2 separate regions of the Homo sapiens genome follow, and region 1 is linked to region 2. The links are contacts of gene promoters, found by promoter capture Hi-C in human tissues and cell types (Jung and others, 2019). All regions are on one chromosome and are shown on one strand. The core of a region is centred on a gene start or on the middle of the fragment in contact, and the rest is flanking DNA. Distances in the headings are between cores, read along the strand shown.

Region 1 (6,653 bases), core at 957-3,456, 1.2 Mb before region 2:
CACCGAAGTCTTGAACCTCTCAAAGTCATCCATGAGGGTTGGAATCAACTTCTTCCAAAGTCCTGTTAATGTTTGTAGTGTTATGAAATATATATACATATAGGTTTTCATACACAGGAAACAGAATCTCTTTGACCTTCTCTTGCCTTCCTTTTACCTGCCTTCCTTTCACCTACCCCAAAGCAGGACTCTAATCTTCTGCTTTTATAATTGTGGATCATAAGACTCATTTCAGAGAGGGTCCCAACCCATGGCCTGGGGGAAGGAATGCTGATATAATGAAGCTTCCATAAAAATCCAAGAGGACAGCTTCCTGATAGCTGAACAAGTGGAGGTTTCTGGGGAATGGCTACCTGGGGAGGGCATGGGAGCTCCGTGTCCCTTCCTCCATACCTCTCCCTGTGCATCTCTTCATCTGGATCCTTCGTGATATCCTTTATAATAAACTGGTAAATATAAGTGTTTCCTTAGTTCTGTGAGCCACTCCAGCAAATTATTGAACCCAAAGAGGGGGTCATGGGAACCTCAACTTGAAGCTGATTGATCAGAAGTTCCAGAGACCTGGACTTGCAACTGGTGTCTGGGGGGAGGAGGGAGTAATCTTGGGGACTGAGCCCTTTACCTGTGGGAACTGACATATCTCCAGGTAGTGTCAGAATCGAATTGGAGGATACCCAGCTGGTCTCCACTGCTTGTTGGTGGGGAAAATCCCCCATATATTTGGTCACAGAAGTCTTCTGTGTTGATTGTTGTGGTGTGAGAGCAGAGGACAAATGCAGTTTAAGTTTTTCCATGACAATGTTGATACTTTGACCCCTTCCTATGACTCACAAATGTTCTTTTTGCGGGCAGGGGGCAAACAAGTGCAGTGGCACGATCTCGACTCACTGCAACCTCCACCTCCTGGGCTCAAGCCATTCTCCCATCTCAGCCTCCCAAGTAGCTGGGGCTATAGGCGGGCACCATCATGCCCGGCTAATTTTTGTATTTTTTGTAGGGACAGGGCTTCGCCACGCTGCCTGTACCTGGCTTCACAAATGTTCTTAATGGCATTTAGGATGGTAAATCCTTTCCAGGTTTTTTTGTTTTGTTTTGTTTTCCTTTATCTAGTCATCCAGAAGTATCCAGAAGGTTTTCAATTTCTTTTGCCCAGATCCATCAAAGGAATCATTATCTATGACAGCTATAGCCTTACAAAATGTATTTCTGAAATAATAAGACTTGAAAGTTGAAATTGCTGTGTGGGCTGCAGAATGGATGTTGTGTTAGCAGGCCTGAAAACGATTAATCTTGTACATCTCCATCAGAGTTCTTGGGTGACCAGCTGCATTGTCAATGAGCAGTAGTATTTTAAAATAAACCAGTTTTTTTTTTTTTTTTTTTTTTTGAGTAGTAGGTTTCAGCAGTGGGCTTTAAATATTCAGTAAATCACGCTGTAAATGGATGTGCTGTTGCTATCCAGGCTTTATTGTTTCATTTACAGAGCAGAGGCCGGGTAGATTTAGCATAATTCTTAAGGAACCTAAGATTTTTTAGAAGGACAAATAAGCATTGACTTCAACTTAAAGTCACCAGCTGCACTAGCCCCTGACAAGGGAGTCAGCCTGCCCTTTGAAGCTTTGAACCTAGGCATTGAAAGTCCTAGATGGTATCTTCTTCCAATAATATAAGGCCATTTTGTCTGCATTGAAAATCTGTTGATGTAGCCACCTTCATCAATGATGAAGCTAGATCTTCTGGATGACTTGCTGGAGCTTCTACATCAAGCACTTGCTGCTTTACTGTGTACTTTTATGTTATGGAGGTGGCTTCTTTCCTTAAACCTCATGAACCAAGCTCTGCTAGCTCCAAACTTTTCTTCTGCAGCTTCCTCACCTCTCTCCACCTTCATAGAATTGAGAGAGTTAGGGTGTCTGGATTAGGATCTGGCTTAAGGGAATGTTGTGGCTAGTTTGATCTTTTATCCAGACCACTGAAAGTTTCTCCATAACAGCAATAATGCTGTTTTACTTTCCTACCATTTGTATGTTCACTGGAGTAGCATTTTTAAATCCTTTCAAGAGCTTTTCCTTTGCATTCACAACTTGGCTAGCTTCTTGGCCCAAAGGCCTAGTTTTTGGCCCATCTTGCTTTTGACATGCCTTCCTCACTAAGCTTAATCATTTCTAGCTTTTGATTTAAAGTGAGAGATGTGTGACTCTTTCTTTCACTTGAACACTTAAAGGTGATTGTGAGGTTATTAATTGGCCTAATTTCAATATAGTTGTGTCGCAGGGAATAGGGAGGCCCAAAGAGAGGGAGAAAGATGAGGGAACAGCTAGTCAGTGGAACACACACAACACTTAGTAAGTTCACCGTCTTATAAGGGTGCAGTTCCTGGTGCCCCAAAACAATTAAAATAGTAACATTAAAGATGACTGAACACATATCACTATAATAGATGTAATAAAAAGTTTGAAATATTGTGAGAATTACCAAAATGTGAGACAGAGACGTGAAGTGAACACATGCTGTTGGGAAAATGGTGCTGATAGACCTGCTCAATGTAAGGTTGCCAAAATTTTTCGATTTGTAAAAAACACAATTATCTGTGAAGTATAATAAAATGAGGTGTTAGGTTGTTGTTGTTTCTGTAACAAAATTATATTTCTATAGGTCGGAATTTTAAAATGGGTTACAGAACTACATTTCTTCCTTGAGGCCACTAGGGGAGAATTTGTTTTTTGTTGTTTGTTTTTAGCTTCCAGAGGTTACTTGCATTTCTTGGCTTGTAGCCCTATCCTCCATTTTCAAAGTCAGCAGCATAAATCTTCCAAACTCTTTCTCTCTCTGCTTTTGTTATCATACTTTTCTCTTCAATTCTCCTGCTCCTTTGTTATAAAGATCCTGTGATAACATTGTGTGCACCCAGATAATACAGGATAATCTCCCCATCTCAGGATTCTTAATTTAATCATATCTACCAAATCCCTTTTACCATGTAAAATAATATATTCACAGGTTCTTGGAATTAGGACATGGAAATATTTGGGGAGCCATTTTTTAGCCTATGGTATGTATGTGGTATGTATGAGTCATTGGGGTATAAAAAATGATTTCTGGTAGTATAATGAGAAAAAATTTTAAGGTTTAAGTTTGTGTTTTATGTGCTGCTTAGAGATGAATAATGAAGATGTCACTAGGTGAACTATGTCAATGGTTTCTGTGTTCATTTCAGTAACTCCCAAGACAACTGGGGCTATGTTCACTAACATGCTGTTAGTTATATATTGCTGCATACAAAACTACCCTAAAATTTAGCAGTGATATGGTTTGGTTGTATCCCCACCCAAAATCTCATCTTGAATTTTAATCCCCATAATCCCCATATGTCAAGGGAGAGAACAGCTGGAGGTAATTGAATAATGGGGGTGGTTTCCCTCATGCTGTTCTCATCATAATAAGTGAGTTCTCACAAGATCTGATGGTTTTATGTGTTTGGTAGTTCCTCCTGCATTCATTCTGCGTCCCACCACCTTGTGAAGGAGGTGCGTTGCTTCCCCTTCACCTTCCGCCATGATTGTAAGTTTCCTGAGGCCTCCCCAGCCATGCAGAACTGTGAGTCAATTGAACCTCTTTCCTTTGTAAATTACCCAGTCCCGGGCAGTTCTTTATAGGAGTGTGAAAATGGACTAATACAAGCACTTAAAACAAAAATAAGTTATTATCTCACAAAGATTTTGGGGGTCAGGAACTGGGAGCAGCTTAGCTAGGTGGTTCTGGCTCAGAGTGTTTCAGGAGATTGCAGTCTGAATGTTGGCTGGGGCTCCAGACACCTGAAGTCTTGACTAGCAGTGGAGAATCTGTCCTCAAGATGGTTCACTTACATGGCTGTTAGCAAGAGGTGTCAGTTCCTCTCTGGCTGTTCATAGGAGATCTCAGTTCCTTACTACATTAGCATCTCCATAGGGCTTCTTGATTGTCCTCAGGACATGGTAGCTTCTTTTACAGTGAGTAATCTGAGGTAGAAGCTAAAGCCACAATATCTTTTATGACCCACCCTCAGAAGTCACACACTGTCACTTCTGCCACATTCTATGTACTAGAAATAAGTTACTAGGTACAACCCATATTCAAAGGGAGAGGAATTAGGCTCCACTGTGTAAAGGGAGGAGTTTCAAAGAATTTGTGGACATATTTTATAGAACCACCACAGCCTACTTGAAGAAGAACAACAGACCTTTTAATCATGGCAAATTTTCTGGACAGATAAATAGATTCTAGGGTTGGAATGATGTCAGCAAGATGGTGGTATAGGAGGTCACCTGCTTTTATCCCCCAACAATAAGAATTCTTCACCCATCCAGACAAAAAAGTCTCTTTGTGGAAGCCTCACGATTCAGGTAGAAAGTTGTGGAAGCCCAATGGAGCCTAAGACCTAGGAGGGTGATTTTGAGAGTGCAGACCCATACCCTGTTGGCAGACCCATCAACTGTGCTCCCAGATTCAAGCCTGGGGAAATGGCCTCATTCCCCAAGGGGCTTGGCAACAGCCCCTACTGGCCTTGAGGCTACCACCAAAACCATCTGCCAGGGGGTTCAGGAAGAATCATGCACACCAGTGCCTCAGCAGGGAAGGCTCATCTGCCTGCTGACGTTGGTCTTCGCAGCTTGGACCTGAAAGTTGCCTTGTGGCTCGTCTCCACCCCTCCTCAGCTGTGGTCCCAGCTTAGTACTACTTGCTGGGAAATTGCTTCCCAAAGGGAAAGTTGCCCATATCTCACAGGAGTTACCCATTCATCTGAGCCTCTGCAATGGGCTTTCCAGTCTCTGTCCAACAGCAGATTCTGAGACCCAGTCTCAAGTCTGGCCCCACACCCACCTAAGCCAATGGGATGGGTTTGCTGACCTCTGTTCCATGGGGGCCCTTGAGGGGGCCCAGTCTCAGCTCCAGCCCCTCTTTCCACATGTGGGGATTGTCCTGCCTGTGCAGGGAACTGCTGGGAGGGGTGTCTGTCCAGGCCACTGGGACAGTCTTCTGGGCTTGGGTCCCTGGCTAGCTTATCTATACAGCCTAGGTACCTTCCTTCAATCTTCCTCAGGTCCATCCTGGCTTGGGTGCTGTGTCAGCCTCAAAGCCCTTGCAAAACTTGTGATGAACCTGGGCTTAGGGCCCCCTCTAGTGCTGAAGTGGCTGCAACAGCCACAGGCTTAGGAATCACAAGTCAGGCTGCTTAGAACTTCTAGACAGGCCTATTGAAGTAAAACAGGCACAAACAAAGCCAGAATGCAAAGACTAGAATAAATACCTAATACACAGACATTGACGCACATCTGCAAGCATCCAGAATAAGCAGGGAAATTTGACCTCACCAAACAAAATAAGATGCCAGTGACTGACCCTAAAGGGAACTTCAAGAAAACACAGAGAAACAATTCAAAAATTTACCAGAGAAATTTAACAGAGATATTGCAATTAAAAAAAACCCAGAAATCTAGGAGCTAAAAAATACAATGAGTATTAAAAAATATTAGTAGAGAGCATCAATAGCAGAATTAAGCAGAGGAAAGAATCTGTGAACTTGAAGATAGGTTATTTGAAAATGGGAAAAGAGAGATCAGACTGTTACTGTGTCTATGTAGAAAAAAGTAAACTTAAGAGACTCTATTTTGTTCTGTACTAGGAGAAATTCTTCTGCCTTGAGATGCTGTTAATCTGTAACCCTAGCCCCAACCCTGTGCTTGCAGATAATTGTGCTGTGTTGACTCAAGGTGTAATGGATTTAGGGCTGTGCAGGATATGCTTTGTTAAAAAAGTGCTTAAAGGCAGTATGCTTGGTAAAAGTAATTACCGTTCTCTAATCTCGAGTACCCAGGGACACAATACACTGCGGAAGGCCGCAGGGACCTCTGCCTAGGAAAGCCAGGTATTGTCCAGGGTTTCTCCCCATGTGATAGCCTGAGATATGGCCTCGTGGGAAGGGAAAGACCTGAATGTCCCCCAGCCCGCCACCCATAAAGGGTCTGTGCTGAGGAGGATTAGTAAAAGAGGAAGGCCTCTTTGCAGTTGAGATAAGAGGAAGGCATCTGTCTCCTGCTCCTCCCTGGGAATGGAATATCTTGGTGTAAAACCCGATTTACTGAGATAGGAGAAAACTGTCTTCTGGCTGGAGGTGAGACATGCTGGCGGCAATACTGCTCTTTAATGCACCAAGATGTTTGTGTAAAGTCAAACAGAAATCTGGCCTATGTGAACATCAAGGCACAGCACCTTTCCTTAAACTTATTTATGACACAGAGATCTTTGCTCACATGTTTTCCTGCTGACCCTCTCCCCACCATTACCCTATATCCTGCCATATCCCCATCTCTGAGATGGCAGAGATAGTAATCAATAAATACTGAGGGAACTCAGAGACCAGTGCCGGTGCAGGTCCTCCGTATGCTGAGCGCCGGTCCCCTGGGCCCACTTTTCTTTCTCTATACTTTGTCTCTGTGTCGTATTTCTTTTCTCAGTCTCTCGTCCCACTTGAGGAGAAACACCCACAGGTTGTGGAGGGGCAGGCCACCACTTCAGAAAATATACTGTCATAGGAGAAACAAGAAAAAATAATGAAAAGGAATGAAGAAAGCTTATGGGATTTATAGGATAACATCAAAAGAGCTAATGTATGG
Region 2 (6,756 bases), core at 2,098-4,597:
GTTGCCTGACAGGCCAGTCATCTCAACTACTGTACTTGGATGTGTGGTTGGAAATAAAATGGATCCGTTTAGGAGAGGCCTTGAACCCAAGGTGGTAAAACTTGGGTGGTGATTGGGCTGGCAGCACAACAGCATGTGTTTGCATTTGAGCTATGGAGTGATAACCATACTTTCAGAAGTTTCCTCTGGAAGACACTTACTGGATGGGTTGGAGTGGGACAGACTAGAAGGAGGGAGACTCAGTAATTAATTGTTGAACCAATCTTTATTGAGTACCCATAGCGTGTCAGCCCGGCACGATACTAGGTGTTGGTAGTATCACAATGAGCAAAACCAGAGGTGTCCCTCTACTGGGGAGTTTATGGCTATGATAGCAGGATGCAGGAAAAAGGAAGTCCTGTCAAGGCTTTTCCGTTTCATAAGCCAGCCCACAGGGAATAGAAAAAATTCAGGGCACTTGGTTTCAGAGAAACAGGGAGAGTTAAGGGAAAAGAGATATATGCATTGGTGCTGGTGGGTCCCTGAGGAAGGAACTCTATGCCTTGTTCCTCCCAGACCAAAGCTGCTGTTGCTGCCTGGGGAGCATGGGGACACATTGGCCAAAGACCCAAAAGAAGCTTAATTTCCCAGGTATCTTCAGTAGCAATCTGTGTGGATAAGTGACAGAAGATTAGTCAGGGAGAAGTTGCCAGCTTAAACAACTGACACTGATAATTAGATGAATTTTCTTTTTTTCTTTTTTTTTACATGGAGTCTCACTCACTGTCACCCAGCTGGAGAGCAGTGGCGTGATCTTGGCTCACTGCAACCTCTGCCTTCTGGATTTAAGTGATTCTCCTGCCTCAGCCTCCTGAGTAGGGATTACAGCACACACCACCACACCTGGCTAGTTTTGTTTGGTATTTTTAGAGAGACAGGGTTTCATCATTTTGGCTAGGCTGGACTTGAACTCTTTCACCTCAAGTGATCCCTCTGCCTCAGTCTCCCAAAGTGCTGGGATTACAGGTGTGAGCCATTGCCCCCGGCCAGGATTAGATACATTTTCTCCCCCAACTTTGGCCCTATATTCATTTTCCAAAAGGTGTCTACGACCTGAAAATCAAGGATGGGAAGAACCCTGAACTGTCTGAGACTGTTTCTACTACCCACATGGAAAAGAGAGTTGAAAAGAAATTAATTTGTCATAGAAAAAAAAAAAGGTTAAATTTCTTTCCCAGGAAAGTCTGTGACCTGAGATTGTTAATCTTAGACATCAGAAAGGATCGCACAAGCAAATGTAAAATTGAAACTGTTAGAAAAGCTGGAAGGTGAGGTTTAGGATGCTACCAGAGCCTGTCCTGGAAGAAGGACTCTTAGCTGAGGGGCAGGAAGTGACAAGAGCTCAGATGAAGATGGATGTGTCTGAGGAACATCTGATGGAAAGAAACAACTGGGTGAGGTGACAGATTGGGAGCCTACAGAGTGTGTACTCTAGGAGGAAGGCAGAACTGGAAGGCTGAATGGTTGGGGGTGGGAGGGAAGAGTTACGTTTTAGAGGGTTGAGTTTGAGAAACAAGTTTTAACATCAAAAGGAAGCTCTCCTATGACAGCTCTTGATGGTGATAAAAACATTCAGTCAGCAACCTGGATTTTTTTTTTTTTTTTTAATGTTCATGCTTGTTGCTTCCTTGAAACTTCACACCTACTGTGAAGTGGTATTTTTAGGTCCTTTATAGTTCTTGAACGTCAAGCAATGAAGGCTCAGAGAAATGAAGCTGTGTGCTCAGGATCACACGACAGGCAAGAGATCACCTCATTCTGAAGCCCTGTTCATTCTCCTTCACGGTGCTGCTGAAGCAGGATATTGCCCTGACCTTTCACAGGACTCACAACAGGGGTGCCCCGTTTACTCAGCCCGCTGCTCTCAACTCCTCATGGGAGGGAGTACGCAAGTGAACAAGGCGGGAACTGGAGTGCACAAGCGCTGGAACAAGCCAGCCGTTTTTCAGCACCAGTGGGATCACACTCCACTCACTCAAGATTCACCGCGTTCCACCCCTCATAGGAGGGAGCGTGCAGGTGAGTGGGTGCAGGAGCCAGAGCGTGCGCTTTTGGACACCGGCAGGAGCGAACTCCGTGCAGGCCCCGGGGCAGTGTCCAGGCAGAGTGCCTGAGGCTCCTGAAGCCCCAGAGGGCATGTTACAGTGTTCTTTTGGCTCTGTCGTCCGTGGACAGCTTAAGTGTTAACAGCTCCGTGGGCCCGCGGTTGCCCTCCACCAGCAAGGGCAGAGGGCCAGCGTGACAGCTTTTGTATCCGCACTCGTGGCTCCCGAGCTCTTGTCCAGCGTCCAAGAAAAATAAAGCTGCACGAACAAATTAAAGGACAAATGCCTGGGATTTTATTGCTGATCAAAGTGGATTTCAGAGGGAAGGTGAGCTGAAAAGAGGGGGGTGGGACAGGCCGGTATGTAGTCTTCCCTTGAAGTCCAGCTATCTCCAGCCAGATTCGTCTCAGAAGTTACGCCTTAAGCTGTCCCTCTGAAGACAAGCTGCTTCTCTCTGACATCCAGCCATGGTCGTCCCCTCATCCAGCTGCTTCTCCTCTCTGCCAGATGAGTCTGGGGTCTTTCTAGGCACAGGATGAGGCAGGGCAGAGCCATGGGTGGCTTAGGAAAAGGCAACATTCAACTGGAAAAACATGGATAGAAGTTCTCACTTTGGGCCATGGTTTCAGGCTTTTTGGCTTGAGGGTGGGGTTTCACCAGGGACCCGCTCTTTTCTACCTAGCATTTATCTGCCTCCTGTCCCTATGCACTGCCTTTGTGGCAGAAAAAGGAGAGTGAGAGTTGGTTCCTCTCTTTCTCTGAAATTCTGAGCTAACATTTGGGAGCCGTCTACAGTATTCAGGTATGAATTTTCTCTCTGGGGGAGCGCATTCGTTTTCCTAGAGCAGTGTGCTTTTAATTGCTCCTTTAATATCTTTCTCTTTTGTGCCTTTTTAGCGCGAAAAGTGTATGGGAAGACTAGGTGCTCGTTAGCGGCTCGGTTAGAACTACATTGCCCACAATGCCCCAGGGAACATTTGTAGCTCTAGAACTACATGACCCAAAATGCCGAGTGGTGGCAAGAGGAGGATTAGCTTCCACTCCGATTTCAAAGATCCAGTTTACCCACTCTACAGCCCAGATATAGTCACTTATTTCCCCTTTCCAGCCAGAGACTTCCGTTCCCTGCTGGAACTTCCGATCCCATTCTTCTCTCGGTGGGAATGCTTGTGGGGGGAAAAAGAAACGCAATAGATAAAGCGGGGCGCATGCGCTCCCGGCACAGGCTTCGATTGTGAGGAAGGCCGGCTAGTCTCCGAGCTCATCCCGCCTTGCGCATGCGGAGAAGGTAAACCAGCGCCCCGAGTTGAGGCGCGGGTTTGGTGGCGCGTTTCAGCGAAGTCGCACGTGAAGGATAGCAGTGGCCTGAGAAAGGTGAGAGCGGGCCGAGGTCGGAATGTGGGGCAGCGCACGGGAAGGGGAGACAGCAGCCGCTGCAGGCGGCACCAGGCGGAGCCGCGAGGCCTGGAGAGTCCGAGTGGGGAGGGGTCCGCGCGCCCAGCGTGCGAAACAAACCGGGGACCCGGATCCCCGTTGCTATGCAACCGGGGGCGTCGTTTCCAGGCAACCCGGGAGGCGCACGTTTCCGGGGAGAAGAGGGTTGCGGCGAGGTTCCGAGGTCCGGCAGAGGTGGAGCGGCTCCCGGGCGTGGGGACCAGGCCAGCGCCAAGCCCGAGCCCCCGAACCCCGACCCACGGCCCAGCCTCCTGCAGCCTCGGCTCGAGCCCTTCGGGGGGCCCCAAACTCATGGGTCGCGCCACGTTCCTTGCCAGCGACGCTACCCCTCAGCGCTTGGCAGGGGACGCGCCGTTCGAAATAGCACATGCCACTGACACCCTGTCTCCGGGAGGCTGCGCCCCGGTTAGGGCGCGGAGCGGCAGGGAAGCTGCCCCTTTGCCGTCGCCCTGCCCCCAAACAGTTGCTGGGCAGCAGCTGTCAGGGGTTTAGTGGGAGCTGCCCCCAACCTGCCAGGGCGCTGACTTCATTCTCTGCAGTGGCGGCTTCGCCTTGTTTAGGACCTTCCTTTAGACTCAGCTGTGCTTCTCGTGTGGCTGCTGTATATTTGGATCTACTATTAAAATAACCTCCCTCCTCACCTCTCCATGGCTTTCTCGTTCGACCCTCACGGTTTCTTGGCAGGTTGCTAATATTCATTTAATAAACATTTATTAGTCATCTTTCCTACTAGGCGCTGGGGATTCCAACATGTCAAGTCTAACCGGGAGTCGCTCGGTCTACTGGGGAAGGCAGGTTGATAAACTGCTAAATTATGCTACGATATATAGTCAGTGGTAATGTGTGTGCTGCAACATTTCTATAGATGTTTAGTTTACAAAGCGCTTGCTGCAGAAATATCTTAACTCCTTACAGCAACTCTTCACCTGGGTTCACTCCCTTTTACGTTTGAGGAGACTGCAACTCAGGCAGGTTAAGTAACAGGCGTAAGGTAGTAGCTTCTAGTCCGTGGCACACTTGAGCCTGGGACGGAAGTCAGGGGTCCTTTGTACACTGCTGCACTTTTGAAGCTTTGCTTAGACTTTTCCCTGAGCTGCTGGCTATGCATCCGAAATTCCTGAGGAGCTTTGCAAAACAAAGGGCTGAGTCCCTCTCTGGAAGAGTCTGAGTGAGTAGCCCTGGGTGGGGCAGACGTCCTTGTTTAACAGGCTGCACAGGCAGTTCCGATGGGCAGCCAAAGTTGAGAACCGCCGCTCCTTAGGGGCAGCTATGAGCAGCGGCGGGACAGTCAGAGCCGGTAGAGGGCACTTTTTGCCGCCCCTCCTGCCACCTGGTGATTCATAGCATGAAATGAAACTAACAAAAGGAAAGAGAAGAGGAGGAAGGAGCCTTGATTGGGAGGGGGGGGCGCGAAATGCCCCATCCTACCCTTGTAGCAAACCACAGCTAAACATAAGCAGTGGCGCCTTCTCACTAACACAATAAGTAAAGCTGTTTCCCCAGCCAGGCTGGGCTCTCCAGACCCACCTGAGCCATATTGCAGCTGCCGAACAGAAGTGGCAGGTTTTGTCTCCCACCTTTTGCTGTCCTCTCATACCTCTTGGTACAAAACCATGGCCTGTAAGCCCAGAAGGCAGATGGTCTCCTGGTATGTGTTCCCTCGGAGGAGTCTGGATGTCCTTCCACTTTGAGCTTGTTGGTGAACTTCAGCTCCATGAGGGCAGGGACTATGTCCACTATCAAGGCAGCATGCGGGTATGGGACAAGCAAAAAGGCAAGATTGAGATCCTGGGTACTGGAGTCAAGTCCCAGCTCTGCTGTGTGATCTTGGATAAGTCACTCAACCTCTCTAAGCCATACTTTTCTGAGTAAGATGAAGAGGGTAATAATACCTTAAAAGATTGTTGTTAGAGTTAAATGAAGTGATGAAACAATAAGCACTCTGTGAATTATAAAGCACCACACAAAAATTATTATAACATATGTATATGTATAGATATGTATAACATTTGTATTATTATGAGTTGTTAATTGAGTGCCTATTATTTGTCTGAGGCCAGGCATTGCAGAAGGTGAAGAAGTTTTAAGACATGCTTCCTCCTCTCAGAGGCTGAGACTGTTTCCATGCCTTTAGTAAAACTATTTGATTAGGCCAAAGTGAGGAGGCCTAATAGCAGTGAGTCCATACTGCCTGAGATTCACCTGGAAAAAAATGAGAAGGAATCCTATTAAAGAAAACAATTTGAAAAAGCAGACCAGCCAGCCAATCTCTGCACTCATTATCTCCAAAGGATACACTACACAATCCTGTTAGGTTTGGTATCTGGTGCACTTCAGAACATCAGTCTGCATAACGATGCCAGCCTCACTGCAGAGGGCTTATTTCAAGGTCTCCTAGCTCCCCTTAACTGGGGCAGACAGCCACTGGAGAGTTGGGGCTGGCACAGAACAAGGCAGGCTGCTGTGGGAGGAGCAGCTTATGGCACCCTGACCTCCTAGGGCTGAGGAAACGATATTTGATCCCTCCTGGTGGAGGTCCTTGGATAAAGGATCCAACCCAAGATAGCAACCCTGCTCTTTTAAGTCCCCAACATGGTTATGACCCAGATAGCTCAGGAACTCACCTGTGCTTTCCTCATCTGCGACCACTGGCAGGCAGGAACCATCTGGTTCTTGATTTGTGCCAAAGACAGTAGAAGGCTTTCCCAGCCTGAGGGCCTTCTACATGAATTGCATGTTTTTCAGCCTTGCTTGACCCTCCAGGCTTCTGGAAGGGCTTAGAGCAGCTGTTTCTGGACCAAAAAGTACCCTAAATGTAGTATTTTTAGAACCCTTTCCTAGACTCTCCTCCTTCCCCCTAAGCAAGACTAGGACATCATTCTCTTCCTTCTCCATCCCTCATGGCTCTGGATTTATTGTCAACTCCCTGAGTGCCTGTGTAACTGCAAAAAGTTCAAAAACCTGACTGCTCCTACCTCAGGGGCATGGCTTAGCCTCTGATCATCAGGTCTGAATCATGAAAACTCCTGGAGCTACAGGTTCATTTCTGAACCTGGAGGGGAACAGGGAATTTGCTGGCGCTGTCTGACATTTCTCAAGCACAGTGGCAAGTAGAAGTTGAACTTGTGTACTTTTTCTTGGCTGATCCTTACCTGCTTCAATGAGTTGGCACTTGTTGGGTCTTAACTTGTCTGTGGCATTGTGTTACAAGACCAGA

The links. Contacts are between HindIII fragments. The study calls those that stand out against the background at their distance.
Region 1: a contact is called between a fragment that was not itself captured here and the fragment with the promoter of TMEM109 in region 2, in 1 of the 25 tissues and cell types used here (small bowel).

The regions. Positions count from the first base shown.
Region 1 is chr11:59,675,583-59,682,235 of GRCh38, forward strand. It overlaps PATL1-DT (PATL1 divergent transcript), which reads left to right. Exons shown (of 4, transcript NR_187296.1): 4 at 1-459. Among named protein-coding and RNA genes, the nearest start is that of PATL1-DT, 9.6 kb to the left of the region's middle. RefSeq lists an enhancer at 4,796-5,296. The HindIII fragment of the contact is 4,352 bases long and covers 31-4,382 here.
Region 2 is chr11:60,910,811-60,917,566 of GRCh38, forward strand. TMEM109 (transmembrane protein 109) reads left to right here and starts at 3,348. Exons shown (of 4, transcript NM_024092.3): 1 at 3,348-3,458. It overlaps TMEM109-DT (TMEM109 divergent transcript), which reads right to left and starts at 3,253. Exons shown (of 2, transcript NR_186356.1): 1 at 3,150-3,253; 2 at 2,356-2,667. PRPF19-DT (PRPF19 divergent transcript) reads left to right here. Exons shown (of 2, transcript NR_186697.1): 2 at 1-90. RefSeq lists enhancers at 1-119, 1,587-2,585, 3,584-4,582, 3,977-4,146, 5,207-5,256 and a silencer at 3,637-3,796. The HindIII fragment of the contact is 7,495 bases long and covers 1-6,370 here.